Regions from separate parts of the Homo sapiens genome. Here all the other regions are linked to region 3. The links are contacts of gene promoters, found by promoter capture Hi-C in blood cells and fetal thymus (Javierre and others, 2016). All regions are on one chromosome and are shown on one strand. The core of a region is centred on a gene start or on the middle of the fragment in contact, and the rest is flanking DNA. Distances in the headings are between cores, read along the strand shown. Region 1 has its middle 220 kb from the start of LINC02104. Region 2 has its middle 230 kb from the start of LINC02104. Region 3 holds the start of PTGER4 (prostaglandin E receptor 4). Region 4 has its middle 69 kb from the start of LINC00603. Region 5 has its middle 49 kb from the start of LINC00603. Region 6 has its middle 130 kb from the start of LINC00603. Region 7 has its middle 3.8 kb from the start of LINC00603.

Region 1 (3,466 bases), core at 166-2,665, 940 kb before region 3:
ATGATGCATTTTACATTTATGTATATGATCTATGTTGAGTTATTTTTTGTAACATGTGAAATGACTTTGTCTATTTCATTTTTTTGCATACGGGTTCCCAATTTTTTCATCATTATTTATGGAAAAGACTAGCCTTTCTCTACTAAGTTGCCTTTCCTCCTTTGCCAGAGGTCAGTTAACTATGTCTGCGTGGGTGCATTTCTAGCCTCTCTCTTTCAGTTCCATTGATCTATGTGTCTATTTTGTCGCCAATTTCATGCTGTCTCGATTCCTGTAGTTTTATTATAGTAAATCTTGAAATCAGATAGTTTGAGCCCTCCAATTTTGTTCTTTTTCAGTGCTTGTGATTATTCTAGGTCTTTTGACCTTCCATATGAACTTTAGAGTCAATTTGTAGATGTCCATGTAATAGTTTGAGGACATTTTAATGAAAATTTCATTGAATCTATAGATTAAGTTGGGAAGAATTGACCTCATAACAATATTGACATACAACCATGAATAGAGTTTATCTCCCTATTTATTTACATCTTTGATTTCTTTCATTCGAGTTTTATAGATTTCCACATATATGTCTTGTACATTTCTTGTTAGATTTGTAACAAAGTATTTCATTTTTTGATCACTATTGTAAATGGTATTATGTTTCTAATTTTAAATTCCATTTGTTCATTGCTAGTGCATAGGAAAGCAAATATAACTTTTGTATATTAACCTTTTTTCTTGTGGCCTCACTATACTTGTTAACTAGTTCCAAGTAGTTTTTTGTACATTCTTTCTACATAAACAATCATGTTATTTGTGAAAAAAGACAGGTTTGTTTCTTCCTTTCCGATATGTATACATTGTATTTCCTTTTATTGTCTTATTGTGTTAGGCAGGACTTTCAGTACAATGTTTAAAAGGAGTGGTAAGACAGCCAGGTAGCTTGTATCTGTAGTCCCAGCTACACAGGAGGCTGAGGTAGATGGATTTCTTGCAGCCAGGAGTTCAAGAGCTGCCCGTGTCATATAGTGAGATCTCATCTCTCTCCTTCTCCTTTTTTTTTTTTTTTTTTTTTTTTTTTAAGGAGTAGTGAGATAGCATATCCCTGTCTTGTTTTCAATGTTAGGCAGACAACGTCCAATTTCCCACTACTTAGTATGATGTTAGTTATAGCAGAGGAATTTCTCCTCTACTCCCAGTTTTCTGAAATGTTTTATCATATATAGGTGTTGGATTTTGTCAAATGCTTTTTCCTGCACCAGTTGATATGATCATATGATTTTTCTTCTTTGGCTTGTCAAAGTGATGAATTACATTGATTTTTGAATGTTAAACCACCCTTATATACCTGGAATAACTCTTACTTGGTTATGGCACATAATTGTTTTTATACCTTGTTGGATTTGATCTGCTAATTTTTTTTTATTGAGGATATTTGCATTTATATTTGCTACATCTCATGTAGCAGATTATGGATCTCATTACAATATTACTTCTGCTTCGTTCTCTCTTTCTTATATTCCAATTACATGCATTCTATATATTATATTTTATTTTATTTAAAAGACTTTTTAAAGATGCGGTCTCACTATGTTGTCCAGGCTGGAGTGCAATCATAAATAATGCGGCCTCAATCTACTAGCATCTTACCATCCCACCTCAGCATCTCAAGTAGCTGGGACTGTAGACAGGGACCACCGTGCCCAGCTCATGGGTATCTTTAAAAAAATATATCCACAGCAATAGGATATTCCATTTAAAAAATACAAATATAACAAAAAACAGAAAAAAAAATCCTCTTTACATTTCAGTTTGGGATGTTTCCACTGACGTATCATCAAACTCACTGATCTTCCCTGGTCATGTCTAGTCTCCTAATGAGCCCATCAGAGGCATTCTTCATTTCCATTATATTGTTTTTATTTCTATGTCTTTTTGATTTCTTCTTACAGTTTCTATCTTTCTGCTTACATTAGCCATGTGCTCTTGCATGTTGTCTACTTTTTTTCTTTGGGGACTTTAACATATTAATTAGTTATTTTAAATTTGCTGATAATTTTAAAACCTATGTCATACCTTAGCATGGTCTTGATGCTTGTTTTATCTGCTCTAACTCTGATTTTTCTTTCTTTTTTTGGCACGTCATGATTTTGTTGAAAACTGAATGTGTGTGAGTAATATGGACTGCTGACTTTTCGTGTGAGAGTTTTTGTTAATGGGGCTAAGAGTTTGGGTATATTTAATATTTACTATAGCTGTCAGTGCCAGAGGCTTCAAATTCATCTGTTGCCTTTGTTTTGTCTTTCTTTTGAACTTTAATCTTCCCTAAGTATTCCTCCTTGCAGAGAGTTTGTGTCTTGCAGCTCTTCCAGCTGGAATCCACTATTATTATACTGGAGCCTGGTTGGTGTGGTGGTCAGTGAATGGGAGTGTTGTATAATCCTATCATCAAATCTCAGTATTTTTATGGATTTGTGTCATGGGCTTTGGCTTTCACAGGTATTTCTTCAGTGATGTAGATGTTCTCTCCCCTTAGATGAGAAAGGACATCTAGAGGTGCCGGAATGGGAGAAACACCTTCCCTTAACTACGATAAAGCTCTGGCAAATCTTTTCCCTTAGACCGACCTCTTTTATGGAGAATGCTCTGGACATAATTTCACAATGATTACTCTTCCTTTCTTGTTGCCACAGCCTAGAGAATATTTTTCTAGGAATTTTATTCTGAGATTCTGGTGAGGTATCTGGAGAAAAGTGTAGGAGACCCACGAAGACTACAGCCCTAGTGATTTCATACCCTAAGGTTAGTCCACAGCCAGCTTCTAGCAATTCACCAAAATTACCATGTAATGTTCTTAGCAGCTTAAGACTCCAGCAGCTTCTGCTCTAGGTAAGCAGATCTCTGCTATGACTATTCTCCTCTCTAGTTTTTAGGATGTTGGTTTGTCCTGCAACCTCAGTTCTCTGATGGGCTCAAGAAAAGTCAACCATTTTCAGTTTCTTCTGATTTTTCTTGTGGAAAGAACAAGAGTGGTAACTTCTAAGCTTGTTACATGTTAGTACTGACACTAGAAGTTTTAACTCTCATTTCTAAAACTCTCAAATTAACAATAATAATGACAATAATAATAAATAATAGTAGCAGTAATAGTATTAATTTTGAAGACACAGTTGCTTTGGATTTACTTACGCACTGTATTAAGAAGCTTCTCTGCTTACAATTTATTTATTCTTGCATCTCAGATCTTTCTTATTCCTTCTGGGACAATTTTTCTACTTAAGGTACATCTTTTTGTAGTAGTGACTAATTCTTATTTGTTTATCTTAATTCTATTATAATTATAGAGTTATTATTGTATTCAGGCCACAATTATAGATTAATAAATATTTTGTAACTGAAAGTTAAAATTCTTATTAGATATTTTTTGCCTCGGTGCCATTCAAAATATTGTTTCATTCTAAAAATTATTCTTTAGAAAACA
Region 2 (3,355 bases), core at 12-2,511, 930 kb before region 3:
TTAAGATCATAGATAGAACACTCATGACTGTACAAAATGGAAGATCTGCAAATCACATACCATATATATTGCTTAAATATTTTTAACTTTATTTTTGATTATAATTTAAGACCTTTTTAGAAGGAAATCAATATATACTTTGGATTTTATAAGTGAAAATTTATAAAAGATTGTACAGTTGAATGGAAACTTCAAAGCAGTTCAGTCCAACCATCATTGATTCATTATTCGTGCGTTAAATATCCTGTCATTCCTTCAACAAGTATCTGATTAATTAACTGGGTACAGCAGTAAATGAAGAAAAGTGTCTTCGTGGAGCTTATATATTGGCAGGGAAACAAGGACAATAAATAAGTAAATATGTAAAATGGTGATAGGACTAAGCAGAAATAAAAGGTAAGGAGAGGTCATAAAAAGAATGGAGATAGTTGCTTTATTAAATAAGATGATCGAGGGAAGGTTTCACTGAGAAGGTGACATCTGAGTAAAGTCTGAAGAAGATGAGGAATGACATCTCCAGATACCTAGTCGGAGAGCTTTTCAGGAGCAGCAAATACAGTGGACTTGAGATATCTGGGCATTAAACATAAGTGTGCATGTGTCTTTATAGTAAAATGATTTATAATCCTTTGTGTATATACCTAGTAATGAGATTGCTGGGTCAAATGGTATTTCTGGTTCTAGGTCCTTGAGGAATCGCCACCCTGTCTTCCACAATGGTTGAACTAATTTACACTCCCACCAACAGTGTAAAAGCATTCCTATTTCTCCACATCCTCTCCAGCATCTGTTGTTTCCTGACTTTTTGATAAATGACATTTTAACTGGCATGAGATGGTATCTCATTGTGGTTTTGATTTGCATTTCTCTAATGACCAGTGACGATGAGCTTTTTTTCATTTATTGCAGCAGTATTCACAATGGCAAAGACTTGGAAGCAACTCAAATGCCCATCAATGATGGATTGGATAAAGAAAATGTGGCACATATACACCAGGGAATACTACACAGCCATGAAAAAGGATGAGTTCATGTCCTTTGCAGGGACATGGATGAAGCTGGAAACCATCATTCTCAGCAAACTAACACAAGAACAGAAAACCAAACACCACATGTTCTCACTCATAAGTGGGAATTGAAGAATGAGAACACATAGACACAGGGAGAGGAACATCACACACCAGGGCCTGTCATGCGGTGGGGGGCTGGGGGAGGGATAGCATTAAGAGACATACCAAATATAGATGATGGGTTGATGGGTGCAGCAAACCACCATGGCATGTGCATACCTATATAACAAACCTGCATGTTCTGCACATGTATCCCAGAACTTAAAGTATATATATATATATATATATATATATATATATATATATATATATATATATAGAGAGAGAGAGAGAGAGAGAGAGAGAGAGAGAGAGAGAGAGAGAGAGAGAGAGAGAGAAAGATATCCGGGCATTAGGCCAGGTACCAGCAGTATAGAGAATGCTGAAAGGCCCACTATATGTAGAAAAGTCATTAAAATGTGTCTTTCTTTATTGTACTGATGCAGGATTTCAGTAAGGGACACCCATTAGGTGTGTGCAGTCCCCAACAAATAGTTTTTGTGCACCTCTGTGTGTATAAACAATTTGATTAAAATATATTACCTTTTTATGGGTCGAAGTGTGAAGATTTAGAATGATGGATAGGTGGAACATACTTAGGTTCATTGTCTGTGATCATTCTGGCTGCAGATGGGCACCGATTTTTATATAGCCCCTGTGTTCCCAGCGCTGGTATGTAGACCCTTACTTGAGTCTCTTTCTACCATCCTGTTAATTTCATTACCCATTTTCTATGCCCCACTTCCTAATCATCATTCTCTAGCTCTTTGCAAGATTCTGTACAATTATCATCCAATTTTATTTGACAAACTAATGGTACTTGCAATAGAGACACCAGTTAGGAGACTATTACAATAATCCAGGGATAGCTGATGGTGATCAGTTGTGTCAAATGCTACTGATAAGTGGCATAATATGAATACTGAGAAGTGATAATTGGATCATCGATCCTCTGTAGTTGTTCATGCTGGCTAATGAGTGAATACTGCACAGAGTGGCAATTCCTTGCTAAATCACTCATTCCGTATTTCCGCAGGTCTGGCCAATGCCTTTGTGCTTAAGGGCACACAATGTCTGAAACATAATGTTTAACTACCAGATGTGTTCATGCACCGTTTAGTTTTTATCTTTTGATAGCACCATGTGAAACATATCAACATGGCAAATCTTCCTTTTTCACTGAGCCTGTTAGACTGATTCAATGGAGACCTTGGAGATTGGTTCAAATAAACCTTAAGTTATTGTTGCCTTCTTGCCAAGGGCTAGAAATGGAATTGATGATTTAGTCCGCAAGGTAAATTAAATAGGCAATGGAATTAGCAGAATGGTAGAAAGTGGCCCAACTAAGGATCTGGATACCAGGGGCTGTAAACAAGGGGACTATACAATAATCAGTAGCCCATCTATGGCCAGGGTGACCTCAACACTGAGCCACATATCTGATTCTGCAAGAAGTACCTACATGCCTTTTGCCTAGGACCATAGTTGATCTCAGAATGTGGAGCAATTCAAACTCATAAATAGAGGTAAATAAATACATTTGTCAGGCAGTTTCTGATGTCAGAACATGGTGCAGGAGGCAGTAGTTGTGGAATGACTGTAAGAATAGACTTAGAGCTAGTCCTTATTCCAGCAGATGTTTGTTTTACAAACAGAAGGCTATTACTTGGTTTACATGAAGTAATATATGTGAAATATTTTACTATATAAATTTTAAATATGATAAAGCTATCTCATGATAGTTCAGGGAGCTGTATCTTTCATTTCTGTCATATATTTTATGGCATTTTCAGCTTTACTGAAGATATTTCTGGGAAATAAGGTATAGGGCTCAAAATAACAATCAAAGCTGAAGACAGTAGACTTTTCTTTACGTGTTTTATTTTCTTAAACTAATTTTAAAGAAATAACTAGAGAATTTGGTTCAGGTTATAAATAAGAAGCATCCAGGGATAAGACCCAAGCATGAGTCAGCATGAGTCAGCAGTTCAGTAAGCCTGGGAACTGGAAATGAGTTGGAATGTAATAACTTCTATCACTTTAATATGAATAAAAGCTTTTGAACTCCTGAAACTTCAAATGCTTGTGGTTGTCTGTTTGAAGACAATTTTGTAATACAAAGTAATTCAGGGAAATATCTTCAGACAGGACAAAAAGTTGCTACTGTGTCAAATTAAAAGAAATATTTTATTTGAGTGACTCAAACAAGATGAAGTAAGAACTTCTATATGAAATCTTGGAGCATC
Region 3 (3,344 bases), core at 736-3,235:
AATTGATAACAAGTCTGGTTTGTCAATGACATGCTAATACCTGTAACAGTTACTAATTATCTCAGCAGTGTGTCTCAGTTTTTATATTTAATATATTCTTCATCATTCTTAAATTAATAAATAGCAACCAATTGTTTTCTCTTTTACAAGCTTCATATGGAAAGAAAATTGAAAAAAAAAATTTGTATTAGCAGAAAGTGAATATAAGGGACTTCCCAACCTCCCCTCCATATATTTACTGACAAGCAACTGACATGAGTGATAGCAAAGCAATGTGGTTAGTGAGGAATGGCGCAGAGTGTGCAGTTTCCTTTTTTCTAATGTTGATTTGTTTTCTGTGCTGACACAATCCTAGAGGTTACTGTTCAAAGGAAGCATCGACAACAGAAGTGATTAGAGTACTGATTAAAAGAAGATTTTTAAGAAAATGACCAATCACCATCAATCTTAATATTGGCTAACAAATGTGTATTTTTCTTTCTCATATTATTAAGTAAATAGTATAAACAGAATAATTCTTTATTAGTATATCCATATAGTGCCTTTTGCAAGTAAATATGATTCTGGATATTTTATGACCTGTAATTACTTGAAATCGGAAAGCCCTTTTAGTTTCTCTTATTACCCATGTGTTGCTGAGACTAACTGAAGAACCAGTTAGGAGGTTTGTTCGTTCACGAAATAACATTTAAGAAATGGGTACCTGCTTATCACATAAAAGAATCCAGTTATTTACTTACCCTGTGAGGAGACATAATATGTTAGAATGCTTGTACACTGCAGATGGGAAGAGGTTTTTCCAGGAATTTAAATTGTGCAATAAGGCCACACAATCTTACTTAAAAAAAATGGTGAAGGGGTTTTAATTACACCATGAAGTTTTACAATTTTTTAGGTTTTTAGTTCTGGTTTTAGAAAACAGAGTAGAAGGATTACAGAGAAAAACTTCACCATTAGACAAGAAGTCAAAATGATTCTAAGGGCCGCGCAAACAGGCTTTTCCAAGAATTAATCATGAGGTGGTGCTTGGAGAATTCCTTTACTCCAGTGACTTTGAAACCCCCTTCTCACTCTCCACTAGTCTTTCAAAGGATTCATGGTGAATTGGGTCTAACGAGTATAACACGGCCGGCCGAAGGCATGAAGCTCACGCTACCCTTTCAGGGCGGAGAAGTTCCCAGGAGGAAGAATGGAGAAAAAGATCGCAGTTAGGCAGTCCTCCCAACCTCACCAAGGCTCCACCTCTCTCCAAAGCCGCAAGGCTCTGCCACCTGCGCCGGGAGAGGCTGCAATCACTGTCTCCTCCTCTTTCTTTCTCTTTTTTTTTTTTCTTTTTTGCCTGGGGTGCCCGACCAAGCGCAGCCCGCAGTCTGGGCACTGCCAACTGACTCCAACTCCTTTTATGGTGAGAGGATGGATTCTTCGTTATTTCCCCGCCCAATCTGGTACCCACCCACCCACCCACCTACCACGTCCGCTGGGCGCACCCAAGTCTAACCCCGGGGCGCACGCGCTAGCGCAGACACCGTATTTCTTCTCCTTTCTCGGCCAACCCTAGGTAGAATCCTAAAACAACTGCCCTCTCTTCCACGATCTAGATGTTGCGGCCCGCGGACAGGAGGTTCAAGAAATAGTACACTCCGAGCGGCAGGCAGCGAGGCGGAAACGGTCGCCGGTTTCAGTGGTGGCCCCACTGGAAGCCGAGTTCAGGAGCGGCTAAGCGGTCGCCGGGGAAAGCACCGGGGCTTCCCAGGGTCCCCTCCGAGTTCCCACTCCGCACCTCCGAGGGCGTGAAAACCACGGGAGCCGCCCCACCCCGCGCGCCCAGCCCCGCCCCAGCCCAGACACCGCCCCCCGCCAGTCTTCCCTGCGGCGCCCAGGGAGGACGCGCTCCGCCCCCTTCCAATCCGGCCAATGGGCGCCCGGGCAGCGCGCGGTTTGCCTCCGCCTCCGCCAGGGAAACTTGGAGGAGGAGAAAAGTTTGTACAGAGGGTGGAAAGGCGAGAGCGGAGCTCCAAGCCCGGCAGCCCGAGAGGAAGATGAACAGCCCCAGGCCAGAGCCTCTGGCAGAGTGGACCCCGAGCCGCCCCCAGGTAGCCAGGAGCGGCCTCAGCGGCAGCCGCAAACTCCAGTAGCCGCCCGTGCTGCCCGTGGCTGGGGCGGAGGGCAGCCAGAGCTGGGGACCAAGGCTCCGCGCCACCTGCGCGCACAGCCTCACACCTGAACGCTGTCCTCCCGCAGACGAGACCGGCGGGCACTGCAAAGCTGGGACTCGTCTTTGAAGGAAAAAAAATAGCGAGTAAGAAATCCAGCACCATTCTTCACTGACCCATCCCGCTGCACCTCTTGTTTCCCAAGTTTTTGAAAGCTGGCAACTCTGACCTCGGTGTCCAAAAATCGACAGCCACTGAGACCGGCTTTGAGAAGCCGAAGATTTGGCAGTTTCCAGACTGAGCAGGACAAGGTGAAAGCAGGTTGGAGGCGGGTCCAGGACATCTGAGGGCTGACCCTGGGGGCTCGTGAGGCTGCCACCGCTGCTGCCGCTACAGGTGAGATGGCGTTGGGCTGACGTTGGGGTCAACGGGTAGAGAACGCAGGGATGCGGCCCTCGCCGAAGAGAGCCAAGAAGGGAAGAGCGCGCTCTCCAAATTGCTTTTGTAACTTGTTTTCAGTGAGCATTTTATTGATTCAGAATCTATCGAGAATAGCACTAGCGAGCTACTTTTCCCTTGAGATGGGTCTTATTCATCTTGGCAATGGAGTGAGTTGGATTGTGGGGAGGAAGAGGAATGGGAAAATCAGTTTATAAATATTAATGTCAGCAAGAGTGTGCTGTTGGCAGGACGTATCGCGAGCCTGGAGATTTTGGTGGCCGCAGTTGGTAAGTGGCTACAATCCAGAAAGTAGGATCGAGTTGCTCCCCTTGTCTTATCAGTGTATCGTTTCTCGGGCGCGGGTCTAACACCTTACAAGTGGTAATTTCCGCTCACGGCAGCTTTGTCTCTCTTCTACCATCCCCAGACCCAGCCTTGCACTCCAAGGCTGCGCACCGCCAGCCACTATCATGTCCACTCCCGGGGTCAATTCGTCCGCCTCCTTGAGCCCCGACCGGCTGAACAGCCCAGTGACCATCCCGGCGGTGATGTTCATCTTCGGGGTGGTGGGCAACCTGGTGGCCATCGTGGTGCTGTGCAAGTCGCGCAAGGAGCAGAAGGAGACGACCTTCTACACGCTGGTATGTGGGCTGGCTGTCACCGACCTGTTGGGCACTTTGTTGGTGAGCCCGGTGACCATCGCCACGTACATGAAGGGCCAATGGCCCGGGGGCCAGCCGCTGTGCGAGT
Region 4 (3,527 bases), core at 888-3,387, 700 kb before region 3:
CTAGGAGAAAAGAATGTTTTCAGGGGCCAGGCACAAGGCACCGCTGCCACGCTCCACTTCAGGACACTGCTACTTGCATCCTGGCTGCTCTGGCTCCAGCCTTGGCTCAAAGGGGCCCAGATACAGTTCAGCCTGCTGCTCCAGAGTGCTCAAGTGATAAGCCTTGGTGGCTTATACATGGCATTAAACCTACAGGTGCTCAGAATACAAGAGTGAAGGAGACTTGACAGCCTTCACCTAAATTTCAGATGTTGTATGATGTATTTCAGAAGCCTGCTGCAGGGTGGAGCCCCCACAGACAGCCTATACTAGAGAAATGCTGAGGGCAATTGTGGGGTTGGAGCCTACACAAAGAATCCCTGCTAGAGCACTACCTACTTGAGCTGTGGGAATAGGACTGCCACCCTCCAGACACTAGAATATTAGAGCCACCAGCAGCTTGCATCCTGAGCCTGAAAAAGCCATAGGCACTCAATTCCAACCTGTGAAAGCAGCCATGGTGACCTTACAAAGTCACAGAGGCAGAGCTGCCCAATGCTTTGGGAGCCCGTCCCTGGCACTAGTGTGCCCTGGATGCTAGACATGAAGTTTTAAAATATTATTTTGTAGCTTTAAGATTTAATCGCTGCCCTGCTGGTTTTCAGACTTGCAAAGGGCCTGTAACCCCTTCATTTTGGCTGATTTCTCCCTTTTGGAATAGGAATTTTTACCCAGTTCCTATACCACCATTGTATCTTGGAAGTAAATAACTCATTGTTGATTTTATAGGCTCATAGGCAGAAGGAGATGAGTCTCAGATGATATTTTAGGCTTTGGACTTTTGATTGATTTGATGCTGGAATGAATTAAGACTTTGGGGGACTATTGGGAAGGGATGATTGTATTTTGTAGTGTGAGAAGGACATGAGGTTTAACGGGCCAGGGTTGAAATGATATAGTTTGCATGTTTTCCTTCTTCAAATCTCATGTTGAAATGTGATCCCCAGTGTTGGAAGTGGGGCCTGATTGGGGGGCGTTTGGATCATGGATGTGGATTCCTCATGAATGGCCTAGCATCATCCCCTTGGCGATAAGTGACTTCTCGCTCTGGTAGTTCACATGAGATCAAGTTGTTTGAAACAGCATGAAACCTACCCCCCATTCTTGCTCTCTCTCTTGCCATATCATGTGCTGGCTCCCCCTTCACCTTCTGCCACAATTATAATCTTCCTGAGACCCTCACTGGAAGCAGATACCAGCACTATGCTTCATGTAGAGCCTGCAGAGCCATGAGGCAAAAGAAAAATTATTTTATTTATGAATTACCCAATTTCAGGTATTTCTTTACAGTAATGCGAAAAACAGCCTGATACAAAATATGTATGGAAAATATAGTGGAGAAAAATCAATGGAATTCAATGCTATCTAGATATAGCATTAAAAAGAAAATATAAGGTAGATTGGACTAGGCATGTGTGTGTTGAATGGAATAAGGAAATCTGCTGTAGAGAGAATAGGCTAGAAAAAAAAGAGGGTTCAGGCTAAAAACAAAACTATGTTTTTCGATAGAATAAGTAAGTTATGTTGCAAGTGACTTTTCATAGCTTGTTTTTTATTTTCTTCAAAAACAAACCATGATTGTATTAGGTTTTACTCGATTTGCTCTTAGCCTATTTAGATTTCTGCTGGTTTATTGGTTTAGTCAATGAGCCTATAAGTAATGGTTAATTTTAGTGATAAACAGCATGTTTGATTTAGGAGAACAAAGGCCAAACAGCTAAATAGAGTTCTTTTGATTCACTGATGAGAGGGGAAACATACTATCTTGGTTCTTTCCATGGAAAAGAAATGATTTGTGTTCATTTAGATCCAAGGGGAGAGGAAGTGCAAGTGTTTTAAATTGCCAAGATAAAATTATTCTGAACTTGGATAAAACCCAATGAAAAACTGAACAAGAAAAGGGTAATGGAGGAGTGTTTTGGGGCCATGCCAGGATGTTAAAAATGCAGGGACATTCAGATTACATGGTACAAAAGTTTATCTATGGAGATCTCTCCGTTTTTGTGCTCTAGTTAATAATTTAGAAGAGTGAGTCTCAGTCACGTTTCAGATTCCTTGAAGATCATTGGGCAAAAAAGGTCAATTGCATTTCCACTCAGAAAAACCACTGCTGACTTAGAAAGTAAAATGACTGTAACTATTCTTCAGGAAAACTTATGTAGCAGGACACGCATTTAGGTATTGTAAGCATAAAGAAAAGAGAGGCCTGATTTGAGAGACCATTTCTTTAGTCTGACTATTAATGATTAGACCTAAATATTCTGATGGTCTTGCACGTTCATTTTCAAAATCATTTCTTCTGTCTTTTGATAGAAAATTCAGAATCTCCAAGTAAAGTAGATATGCAGGTTACTTGATGTCAAATGCCACTTCAATTTTCTGGGCCTTCACACTTTTCATTCTCATTCTGTTATATTATACAGTTGACCCCTGAGAAACATGGATTTGAACTTCACTAGTCCAATTATAGGTACATTTTTTGGTAAATATATTGAAAAGTTTTCTGAAGATTTGTGACAATTTACAGAAATTTGCAGATGAACCATGTAGCCTAGAAATACTGGAAAAAATAAGAAAAAGTTAGGTGTGTCATGAATGCATAAAATATATGTAGATACTAGTCTATTTTATTATTTACTACCATAAAATATACACAAATCTTTTATAAAAACTTAAAACTTACCAAAACACACATAAACACTTACAGGCCACATATGGTACCATTGCACTCTAGAGAAATTTAAACAAATGCAAAGATGCAGTATTAAATCATAACTGCCTAAAATTAACTATAGTATATACTGTACTACTGTAATAATTTTTTATTCACCTCTTGTTGCTATTGCAGTGATCTCAAGAGTTGCAAGTATTTGCTTAAAACACTGTGTGGCACCAGTCATCTCCTTGCGAGCAGTTTGTCTCTCCAGTAAATTGCATATTGCAGCAAAAGTGATCTCTCTCAGTTCTTGTATATTTTTATTGTGTTTAGTATAACACCCTTAAACCTTGAGTAACATTATGGTACCCATATGAAGTGCCACTAGTGATGCTGAAAATGCTCCCAAGAAGCAAAGTAGTGACATAAAAAACAGTTTAACTGTTTGATGTGTACCATAGATTGACATCTGTAGCAGTGGATGCCCACCATTTCAAGATAAATAAATCCAGCATAAGAACCATTATTTAAAAAGAAAAGAACATTTGTGAAACTTTCACTGCAGCTACACCAGCAGGCATGAAACCTTGCAGTTTTTGTAAAATACAGTTTCCTTTAATTTCATATTGAAAACACAGCTTTTATGTGGGTGCAGAATTGCTGTAGGAAAAGCATACCCACAGACTCTAATACAATTTAAGAAAAAGTGAAGTCATTATATAACAACTCAAGGCAAAAACAATGTGAAGGATCTAAAGCTGGAGAATTTAATACTAGCAAAGGATGGTCTGATAATTTTAGAAAGAGATGTGGTTTTAAAATGTCAACATAG
Region 5 (3,667 bases), core at 643-3,142, 680 kb before region 3:
CAAACAGAACAACTTTGGTATATTAAAAGAAAAAAAAACTTTGAGAAATTCTTCTTTTTAGAACTCTAAATGTATTTCTTTCTAGATCTTCAATTTTCAGTACTTTTCATTGTTTATTTACAAATACCTTGTTTCAGAAATCTCCTATAATTCTTCTGTTGCTAACATTAGTATTTCCTGTCCCCGTATGTTCTATCTCTTTCAGAAATCCTTTGCTCTCTGTGGCCTATAGAGTAAATTTTTGCTCTTTTTCATTATAAAATTTGAATTTTCATATTTCTTGCTCACTTGCCTCTTCCCACTCCATCTTCCATTTCCCTAGACATTAACAAAGAAAATCTCATGAAAGAATTGTTTTTCTATGCATCCACCAATATCATTTATGAAATTGTTGATTCACAACATATTTGAGTTTATCTACTACATTTTTTCTTTAGTATACAGAGGAGACTTTTAGTAATAATAACTTGTTTCAATTAACATAATAAAAACCAGACTTTATTTATTTAACAAATATCCATTGAATCTCATTACCTGTTACATAATGGTCTAAGTTCTGTAGAATTCACAGCAAAGAAAGTTGAGAGAGACTGTTTTCTGGTTAAACAAAATAAACAAAAAGAAAACCTTTTGAAGATTGCACAAAATCATAGCAAAGGCATTTGCCATATTTTATCCAGACCTGACATCACTTCGCTATATTCAGGGAGTCTAGGGAATTAGTATGTTTATGCCTGCAGCTAAAAATTGCCCATGTTCCTTAAAATTCATTCCTCTAGTAGCCACAAGTGGACAACTGGCAGTAATTATGGTATGAAAGACATATTTAATCACTGAAAAATGATAGATTTTAAACTTACTTTATACATAAACAGTGGAGATTGAGGTAGGGGCAAGAAAAATATAGGGTAAAGAACATTCAAAAGACTTACGAAATATTATTCTAAAATTTTCCATTTCCAAGAGTTGGTTTGGGTGGGAACAGGTGGCATTTGGTCACATGAATAAGTTCTTTAGTGGTGATTTTCAAGATTTTGCTGCATCCATCACCCAAGCAGCATACACTGTACCCAATGTATATTCTCTTATCCTTGAGTCCCCAAAGTTCACTGTATCATTTTTATGCCTTCACATCCTCATAGCTTAGCTCCAACCTAATGAATGAAAACGTACAATGTCTGGTTTTCCATTCCTGAGTTACTTCTCTTAGACTAATGGTCTCCAAATTCCATCCAAGTTGCTGCAAATGCCATTCTTTCATTCATTTTTATGTCTGAGCAGTATTTCATGGTATATACACACTGCATTTTCTTCATCCACTCATTGATGAATGGTCATTTGGTTCCATATTTTTGCAATTACAAATTGTGCTGCTATAAACATGCATGTGCAAGTATCTTTTTCGTATAATGATTTCTTTTCCTCTGGGTAGATAGCCAGGAGTGGGATTGCTGGATCAAAAGGTAGATCTACTTTTAGTTCTTTAAGGAATCTCCACAGTTTTCCATAGTGGTTGTACTAGTTTACATTCCCACTAATGGTTCCTTTGCATTAATACCCAGAAGTGGGGTTCCTGGATCATATGGTAGTTCTTTTTTAATTTTTTGAAGAATGTTCCTACTGCTTTCTGTAATATCTGGAAATATTCCTATCAAAAGGTATAATGGTTCTCTTTTCTCCACATTCTCACCAAAAATTCTTACCTCATTACTTTTTGAAAATAGCCATTCTAACAAGTGTAACATAATATCTCATTGTGGCTTTCATATGCATTTCTCATATTAGTGATGTTGAGCACCTTTTTATATACCTGCTGGCCATTTATATCTCTTCTTCATAAAATTTTTATTTAGGTCCTTTGCTCACTTTTAATCAGATGATTTGCCTTCTGCTGTTGAGTTACATGAGCTCCTTCTATATTTTGGATATTAACCAGGTATAGGATATATTAAATCTTTATAGGTTTGCAAATATTTTCTCACATTCCATAGGTTCCCTTCTTATTTTGTTGATTGTTTCCTTTCCTGTGCAGAAACTTTTTACTTTTGATGAAGTTTCCCGTGTTTATTTTTTATTTTGTTGCCTGTGCTTTTAGTGCCGTATCTAAAAAATCATTGCCAAGTTCAATATCATGGACTTTTCCCACATATTTTCTTCTAGGAGTTTTATAGAGTCAGATATAATGTTTTAATCTTTGATTCACAATGAGTTGATTTTTGCATGTCATGTAAGACTTGCATCCAATTTCATGATTTTTTTTTGCATGTGAATATCCAATTTTGCCAACATCATCATTTGTTCAATGATAGTGTTCAAAACACTATCATTTTCTGTTTGTGCATTCTTGGCACCTTGTTGAAGATTCACGGACTATATATAAAAACTCAAATATATATATATATATATATATATATAAAACTCATATATATATATATGAATTTATTTCTGGACATTTGATTTTGTTCCATTTGTCTTTCTGTTTGCTTTTATCTCAGTATCACATGTTTTGATTATTGTAGCTTTGTAATATAATTTTAAATCAGAAAGTTTGATACCTTCAGTTTTGTTCTTCTTGCTCAAGATTGCTTTAGCTATTTGGGTTCTTTGTGGGTCCATATGAATTTCAGAAGTTTTTTCTATTTCTATAAGAAATGCCATTTGTGTAGACATTTTGAAAATATTAATTTTTCCAAACCATGAACATGAGATATCTTTTCACTTATTTGCATTGTTTTTAATTTCAGTCACCAACGTATTATAGTTTCAAGGGTAGACATCTTTTACCTCCTTGGTTAAATGAAATCCTGTGTGTTTTATTCACATTGATGCTATTGTAAACAAGCTGGTTTTCTTAATTTCTTTTCTGGATGTTTTGTTATTTGTGTAGATAAATACAATTGGTTTTTGTATGTTGATTTAGCATCCTGAAACTTTACTGAATTTACTTATTAGTTCTACCAGGTTTTTCAGGACAGGGGAGAGGGAGTCTTTAGGGTTTTCTATAGACAAGATTATGTCATCTGCAAACAGATAATTTTACTTCTTTTCTTATATGGATGCTTTTATTTTTGACTAATTGCTCTATCTAAGGTTTCTAGTACCATGTTGAATAGAAGTTGCTAAAGTGGGCATCCTTGTCTAGTTTCTGATATCAGAGGAAAACCTTTGCTTTCATTTGAGTATGATGTTAGCTATAGGCTTCCCATATATAGCCTTTATTATAATGAGGTATGTTCCCTGTATACTTAATTTGTTGAAAATGAATTTTTATCATTAAAGGATGGTAAATTTTACCAAATGCCTTTTCTGTATCTATTGACATGATCATATGATTTTAGTCCTTCATTCTGTTTATGCAATGTATCATCTTTATTAATTTATGTATGTTGAACCACCCTTATAACCCAGGAATAAATCTCACTGGATGGTGGAGAATGATCTTTTTTAATGTGCTGTTAAATATGGCTTGTTAGTATTCGGTTGAGGATTTTTGCACCTATATGAATAACAGCTGTAATTTTTTTTTTCTTATAGTATTTTTGTCTGGCTTTTGTATCAGCATAGTGCTGGCCTTATAAAATGAGTTCGGAAGTGTTACCTCCTCTTTAATTTTTGTGAATTTAAGAAGGATTGATATTAATTTTTTTTTTTTTTTTTTTGAGTTGGA
Region 6 (3,797 bases), core at 996-3,495, 760 kb before region 3:
TTAATGGTCTTCTGCTCATGTAAAATTAATGATTTTAACTGCAGAATGGATGTTGTGTTAGCAGACATGAAAACAACACTAATCTCCTTGTACATCTCCATCAGAGCTCTTGGGGTGATCAGGTGCATTGTCATTGAGCAGTAATATTTTGAAAGAAATCTTATTTTCTGAGCAGTAGTTCTCAAGTAGTCTTAAAATATTCAGCAAACCATGCTGTAAACAATTGTACTGTTATATAGGCTTTGTGGTTCCATTTACAGAACATAGGTAGAGTAGATTTAGCATAATTCTTAAGGACTCAAGAGATTTTCAGCGTGATAAATTAGCACTGGGTTCCACTTGAAGTCACCAGCTGCAGTAGACGCTAATTATAAAGGCAATTCGCCCTTTGAAACTTTGAAGACAGGAACTGTCTTCTCTTCTCTAGTTAGGAAAGTCCTCGATGGCATCCTCTTTCAATAGAAGGCTATTTTGCCTACGTGGAAAATCTGTTGTTGAGTTGTAGCCAACTTCATCAAAGATCCCAGCTAGATCTTCTGGATCACTTACTGCAGATTTTTCATCAGCACTTGCTGCTTCATCTTGCACTTGTGTGTTACAGAGATGGCTTATGTCCTTAAACCTCACAAACCAACCTCTGCTAGCTTCAAATCCTTCTTCTGCAGCTTCCTCACCTTTCTCAGCCTTCATAGAATTGAAGAGTTAGAGTCTTCCTCTGAATGAGGCTTTTGCTTAATGAAATGTTGTGCCTTATTTGATGTATACAGACCACTCAAACTTTCTCCATGTAAACAATAAGCCTGTTTTGCTTTCTTATCATTTGTATTTACTGGAGTAACACTTTTAATTCCCTTCAAGAACTTTTTATTTGTATTCGCAACTTGGCTAACTGTCTGTTGCAAAAGGCCTAGCTTTCAGCCTATCTCAGCTTTTGACGTGCCTTCCTCATTAAGCTTAATCACCTCCAGCTTTTGATTCAAAGTGAGAGACATGTTACTCTTTCTTTCACTCGAATACTTAGAGGTCATTGTAGGGTTGTTAATTGACCTAACTTCTATATTGTTGTGTCTCAGGAAATAGGGAGGCCCAAGGAGAGGGAGACAGATGGGGTAATGGCTGGTTGGTCGATGGAGCAGTTTGGAACATACACATTTATTTGTGGTATTGAGTGTGGTTTGTAGCACCCCAGAACAAATACAATATGGTACTAACATCAGAGATCACTGATTACAGATCACCATCAGAGTTATAATAATAATGAAGTGTCTGAAATATAGCCGAATTACCAAAATGCGACACAGAGACACAAACTAAGCACATGTTTTTGCAATAATGGCACTGATAGACTTGCTTAATACAGGGTTGCCACAAAGCTTTAATTTGTAAAAAAACACAATCTCTGTGAAGCACAATAAAGTAAAGCACAATAAAACGAAGTACACTTGCATATCTTGCATATTTAAACAGAGTTTTCTTTTCAGTTCAAGATTATATCATTGGTCAAATAAGTTTGAAGATTGAGGTAAATGATGGTGTCTACGTAAGTTTGAACAATTTCTATATGTTGCCACATTACTTAAAATCAAGTTAATTGACCTAATTTCAATATTGTTGAGTCTCAGGGAATAGGTAGGCCTACATTACTTAAAGTTTACTAAACCAGGCAAATTTTCACCCCTAAATTCTGAAGATTTTGATTTTATGAAACTATACTATTGAAATTCAAATTCAAGTGCAAGTAAAAATCTCTTAGCCTTTCAAAGTGTCCCTAGTTACATCTCTCCAATATCAAAATATAAATTAGTTCAAATCACTTCTTCCACTAACCATAAATTTTTATTTCACAGACCAAGTATTTAATCACTTAAACAATTTTATAATTAGCAACGTGTTAGTACTATAATAAGTAAAACCTCTTCTTAGTTCTAAAATTTAATATGTTAGTGATTCTAATGAACTAATCTATAAGCCAATCTATGAATTTATCTTAGAAATCAGTGTCCCTAAGGCACATATTATATAGTGGAGTACATAAAACCAATACAAATTAGAAATTTAAATAATTATAAGCAGTAATATTTAATAAAATGTTAAATGTGATCAAATCAACTGGTAGATTATAAACAATAGTTTACAAATTTTGTGTAGACAATATTTTTGTTGACTATATATTAAGCTGTCTTCATATTTTAACTCATTGAATTCTTATAATTATCTAATAACAAAGGTAGTGTCATTATTTTTCTGTTGCTCAATGAGCAAGATTAAGTTCTGCAAGTGCAATTGACTTTCCCAAGGCGGTTTAGCTAATAAAGTGCAGACGGTTGTAAAACATCAAAGCATATGTGGGGTGTGTGTGTGTGTCTGTGTGTGTGTGTGTGTATTTTGTATATGTTGATATATATGAGTGGTGGGGAAACAATCACAAGCAGATGAAACATAAAATATTGCATGCAGGTGACAATGACCATCTCTTCTTTTCATTAAATACCACTCTTACAATTCCAAAGAGCGTCCTTTGAAGTTCTTAAATATATCTTCTCAACTGACATTAACTTCACAATTTGACACTAGAAAACTGAGTTAGAGATACATTTAGGGGCTGCCAATTTGAAAGAAGAGGGCCAGAGGGGTGAAGGGAGTAAAATAAAAGTTGAAGAACAATCTTTAAGACCAGCTGAGATTAAAAAGAAGAAACAACCTTTCTTCTTCACATTAATAGCATTTTTAATTCCAGTGTCAGACATGTATTAAACACCTCTCTGACATTAATGTAAGATCAGTGGCTAATATGATGAGATATATAAAAGCCATATTGAATAAAATTAAAAAGTTTATAATTCTTGGCCATGCAGGACTGTAAAATCAGAGGTTGATATTAAAGGTTACTCTTGCAACCTTTAATAAAGAAGTCATAATCATTTTTCTAGATAAGGACAATGTTAAAAGTTATCCAGTTTGCCAAAATTAGGAAACTGGATAACTTCAGAGTGACTTTCTGCTATGTCCACATAACATCATTTAGTGTTTTCAACTGTTTTCCTCATTGAAGAAATGTTATATGCAGACTGAAATATAGTTCCTGATTTTGGTTTTGCTTAAAATTCATGAATCTCTACAAGCTTTCTTGAAATATCGTACAAAGCTTGTTTGGGAAGGAAAATGATGCCATGGAAAGTTGAGGAAGAAACTAATTTATGTTTAACCTTTATACAGGGCCACCACATTGCATCATTCTAGGAGCTGCCATTGACATTGTCTTCTTTGCATGCCCCAAGGAGTGTTCATCCCCATAATAGAAAATGATAAGGCAAGTTACTTAACCTCTCTTTTAATTTGCTGTTATTTGTATCTTTCAGGGTTGCTTGAGAAGTAAATTAAAGAAGATAAAAAATAACATAGTGCGCAATGCACAGAATGCGTCCCAAAACACTAGTTTTTTTCCTCTCTAATCATTCTTACAGAATGCCTGATGAAATCTTGTTACTTCTGCCACCAGATGTAACTGAAATAGCTTGGAATATTTGGTTTGTTTAAGCCACTGGAACTCACTGGACTATTTTTAACTAATATTAGTAAGAAGGAAATTCTGTTCACTTACAATTAAGGAAGCCTACAAAAGTTGTCTTTTCATTAAAAAGATAATATGCATTTAGGTAGTCATCTAACTCCTACTTAAAGCAGCATGTCTGTTCAAACATCCTTTATTTTCTTAATTTGTCTCAAAAGAGGTTTGCTTTATCTTAAGGGTGGTTATACCAGATAATGGGATAACCCATTGTCTAGAATGCAGAGTC
Region 7 (3,670 bases), core at 256-2,755, 620 kb before region 3:
GAATGTGCAGACTCATTCCTTGCATTGCCTGGTCTTCCAAAATCTATTATCTCCTTTCCTGCAAGCACAGGAGCCCTGTTGTGGTGAGAAATCACCAAAGCCATCCTATTTGGCTATCTCCCAGGTTACAGGCTTTGACAAAGTAGCAATGACCATCTTGAAGGAGCAGTCAACCTCCCGATGGAAAGAATTGCTCTTGGAATTGAAATGAAAAAGCATATGTGGTCAATTAGCATAAATTTTGGGATAATTTTTTTCACCAGATCACCTAATTGCTATACTCTACTGTTTAGTGAGCTTGATTAAAAGACAGTGGAGTGAGCACAAGTTTTAGTCGGGTTATGTTGTAAAAATTTTTTTTTTAAAAGAAACTGACACCTACCTTGAGGGTTAACGTGAATTGTATTAGTTTCTTACGGCAGAGGTAACAAACTAATGCAAACTGGGTTGTTTACAGAAATAAAAATTTATTCTCACATAGTTCTAGAGGCCAGAGCCTGAAATCAAGGTGTCAGCAGAGTTGGTGCCTTCTGGAGGTTCTGGGAGAGAAATCATCCCATGCCTCTCTCCTGGCTTCTGGTGGCGGTTGGCAACCCTTGGCTCACAGGTCACCACTATACTGTCTACCTCCGTCATCATGTGGCATTCATCCTAGGCATGTCTCTGTATCTTTGTTTGCTCTTCATATAAGGACACCAGTTATTGTATTAGGACCCACCTTAATCCAATATATCCTCATCTTAACCTAATTACATCTGCAAAGATCCCATTTTCAAATAAGGTCACAGGGTGAAGTTCCAGGTAGACATCATTCGGGAGACACAGTATTCAACCCAGCATATGAATATTAGTGAGAAGGAATATAAAGCACCTAGCAAAATGTCTGGCACACAATTAGGCTTTAATAACTAGTAATTATTGGTACCTGTGGCTTACTAAATTGGCTACTCTGCACTGAGTAATGCTAGAGTGCTGAGTGTGTAGTGAAGGTCAGAGCAATTTACAACCATGTCAGTATATCTTTCTCACTGTTTTTCTCCTAACCCCAGACAATTTAAGTTCAGTGCCCAAGGCAAGTAAATTTAAACCTGAAATCAATCAGTTTGCTCTGGTTTCTTGTAAGCCACGTTAGTACTCCTGAAATATAAGCAGGGAATTAACAGAGCCCTCTAATGCCTTGAATTAAATTTTGAGCCAAACTTCACTGCGTGCTAAAAATAGATTGCCTCATTGTTCACTAGTAAAGGGAGGATCCCTAACTGCTTCAAATTAAGTTGTGAGCTTTTTGTTTGTTTTAATTGCATACTTTTCTCTGTTCAGTCTTTGTGGAGTCCATGGCTGCTACTTCTCTACTGTTTATATAAATTTTATCTTGGTGCTAAAGTGAAAATTGTAGTATTTCTTAGATATAGGGCTTTGTAAGGAAAGAAAAATTACACCTGTTTTCCCAAGAGTTAATTGTGATTATGCTGGGAAACAGGAAACTGAACTGGAAGAATCTAGAGAATCCCTCTAGCAAGGATCTTCTGTTTCTCCTCTTGGACTTGCTGCCATTATCTTTCCCAAGCCAATTTCCAGTTGTTCCTCAATTATTTCAAATCAGCCACTACTTCTTCAAACTTTAAAATCTCATTACTGGATATTTCAGTTCAAAACTCCAGGCTACACTATTTTAGTGCCCAAGCTAAATACTATTTAGCTTGAAAGAAAAAAAGAATATTCTGCCATATGTGACAATATAGATGAACCTCAAGGACATTATGCTATATAAGAGGACATTAAGTTACATAGGCCTTATTGTTTTCAATTTTTTCAAAATGTATATACTTTACAATAAACAGATAATTAAATTTTTTTCTCACTACTTCCTTACCTTGATATCAGATTTTTGCTATGTGTTTTTTGAGGTCAGGTGGTGACTACAAAGATACATTTTTTTTCTAATTACACTATTCTGTCTGTGAATCAAGCCAAACTACTAGAAAAAAACTGCATACCTGAATCATGTTTTACAATCCTGTACTTTTTTTTTTTTACTTTTTCTTTTTTTTTTCTAAATTATTATACAACTTGGTGTCTCTAATACACTTTGAGGAACATTGTAAGAAATAGCTTCGTAGAGCACACTTCTGTATTTACCAAAATAATGTTGTGGAAAACATGGTTTAACACATGGCACCATATTTTCTCTCTGAGGACAAAAAACAAAAATGGTTCTCCAGAATCAACATTGAGGAATGTTTTACTCTTCTAAGCAATTGCTTTTGTTTTATTGTTTAGACCCTTTGAGATGGTTAATCAACCATAATTCTGTATTTTTGTGGTCTGCCAGAAACCTTAATGATGTATCTCTGTTTCCTATCACTAGAAAAGAGCAGCATAGTGGTGTGCTAATCACGCTAGTGGTTTTATCTTATTTTTCTCACCTTCATTCCCCCATTCCTCTGTTATGGTTTGCATGTTTCCAAATCTCATGTTAAAATATATCCCCAGTGTTGGAGATGGGGCTTAATGAGAGGTGTTTGGGTCACAGAGGCAGTTTCCTTATGAATAAATTAATATCCTCCCTTAGCGGTGAGAGAGTTCTTGCTCTATTGGTTCCCAAAGGAGCTGGTTGTTTGAACAAACCTGGTGCCTCCCTCTCTCTCTTTCTTCCTCTCTTGCCATGTGGTCTTTATGCAAACCAGTTCCCCTTTGCTTTCTGCCAGAAGTAGAAGGAGCCTGAGGCCCTCACCATATGCAGTACCCCAAACTTGAACTTTCCAATCATGGGAATTATGAGCCAAATAACTTTTTTTCTTTATAAATTAGTGAGCCACAGGAATTCATTTGTAGCAACATTAAATGAACTAATACCCCTTTTTTATGTTATTGGTGTGCATCTTGCTACCTGCCTTAAGTCTTTTTAACAAGGCAAAGTAAAAGGAAAAATATTTAAATTAATAAAATTTAGTTTACACATGGTCTTGATTAAAGAAAACTGGTTGGATTAGACCTAGTTAAATTTAAATTATCTGTGGTTTCTAAGATGGCCATTAAGAAGAGAGTTCAGTTTTTCACATTTCTAACCTACTTGTGAGATTCTTTAGAGTGTAGTATAGACATCTTATAATTCGAAAGTAGTAATGAGACTGAAAAATAGAAATTGTTGTTATTAAAATGTTACTGAGACCTAATTTTACAAAGGCCTTGTAGGCATTCTGTAGGTAAAATTGCATAGACCCACCATCTTCCCCTGGGAATCTAGAATCACAAATAAAAGGTTTACTACATTCAAATCAAGCAGCTTTGGATCCAAAAAGATTCAAACTAAGAAGTGTTTGTACCATTCTAAGAAGTGAAGGATATATTCAGTTGTGGTTGAAAGAAGGTGCTGTAAAACACATTCAAAAAAGAGCTTGTGCCTCTTTGAGGTAAACGAATGACAGTTCCCAGGAGCCACCAGGGTTTAAACAACTTCTGAGTTATTTCAAATAACATAAGACAAACATTCCAGGAATGACGTTATAAAACATTTTTCTATTTGCCCTATTAATTTCTTCAGATACCAGTTCACTAGGAGAAAGTAAAAACCTGTAAAATATAATGCTAAATCTATAAGTCCGCAAGCTTAAATTTAAATATTTCAAGTAAATACATCCAAGTTGTAAAAATGTCAAAATATTCGCAG

The links. The method cuts DNA at HindIII sites, captures the fragments that hold promoters and counts their contacts. A CHiCAGO score of 5 or more calls a contact.
Region 1: a contact is called between a fragment that was not itself captured here and the fragment with the promoter of PTGER4 in region 3, in 1 of 17 cell types (neutrophils). The highest score is 5.3, in neutrophils.
Region 2: a contact is called between a fragment that was not itself captured here and the fragment with the promoter of PTGER4 in region 3, in 1 of 17 cell types (neutrophils). The highest score is 5.3, in neutrophils.
Region 4: a fragment that was not itself captured here is called in contact with the fragment with the promoter of PTGER4 in region 3 in 2 of 17 cell types (naive B cells and total B cells); the score reaches 5.9 in naive B cells.
Region 5: a fragment that was not itself captured here is called in contact with the fragment with the promoter of PTGER4 in region 3 in 3 of 17 cell types (naive B cells, neutrophils and total B cells); the score reaches 8.8 in naive B cells.
Region 6: a fragment that was not itself captured here is called in contact with the fragment with the promoter of PTGER4 in region 3 in 2 of 17 cell types (neutrophils and total B cells); the score reaches 5.9 in neutrophils.
Region 7: a fragment that was not itself captured here is called in contact with the fragment with the promoter of PTGER4 in region 3 in 1 of 17 cell types (naive B cells); the score reaches 5.8 in naive B cells.

Annotation. Positions count from the first base shown.
Region 1 is chr5:39,734,984-39,738,449 of GRCh38, forward strand. No RefSeq gene overlaps it. Among named protein-coding and RNA genes, the nearest start is that of LINC02104, 220 kb to the left of the region's middle. The HindIII fragment of the contact is 3,223 bases long and covers 1-3,027 here.
Region 2 is chr5:39,752,988-39,756,342 of GRCh38, forward strand. No RefSeq gene overlaps it. Among named protein-coding and RNA genes, the nearest start is that of LINC02104, 230 kb to the left of the region's middle. The HindIII fragment of the contact is 3,803 bases long and covers 1-3,163 here.
Region 3 is chr5:40,677,930-40,681,273 of GRCh38, forward strand. It overlaps PTGER4 (prostaglandin E receptor 4), which reads left to right and starts at 1,986. Exons shown (of 3, transcript NM_000958.3): 1 at 1,986-2,549; 2 at 3,022-3,344. The coding sequence starts at 3,065. RefSeq lists a silencer at 1,649-1,868 and an enhancer at 3,004-3,344. The HindIII fragment of the contact is 6,362 bases long and covers 149-3,344 here.
Region 4 is chr5:39,981,104-39,984,630 of GRCh38, forward strand. No RefSeq gene overlaps it. Among named protein-coding and RNA genes, the nearest start is that of LINC00603, 69 kb to the right of the region's middle. The HindIII fragment of the contact is 5,583 bases long and covers 1-3,527 here.
Region 5 is chr5:40,001,308-40,004,974 of GRCh38, forward strand. No RefSeq gene overlaps it. Among named protein-coding and RNA genes, the nearest start is that of LINC00603, 49 kb to the right of the region's middle. The HindIII fragment of the contact is 9,445 bases long and covers 1-3,667 here.
Region 6 is chr5:39,921,949-39,925,745 of GRCh38, forward strand. No RefSeq gene overlaps it. Among named protein-coding and RNA genes, the nearest start is that of LINC00603, 130 kb to the right of the region's middle. The HindIII fragment of the contact is 1,749 bases long and covers 1,372-3,120 here.
Region 7 is chr5:40,054,229-40,057,898 of GRCh38, forward strand. No RefSeq gene overlaps it. Among named protein-coding and RNA genes, the nearest start is that of LINC00603, 3.8 kb to the left of the region's middle. The HindIII fragment of the contact is 4,203 bases long and covers 1-3,607 here.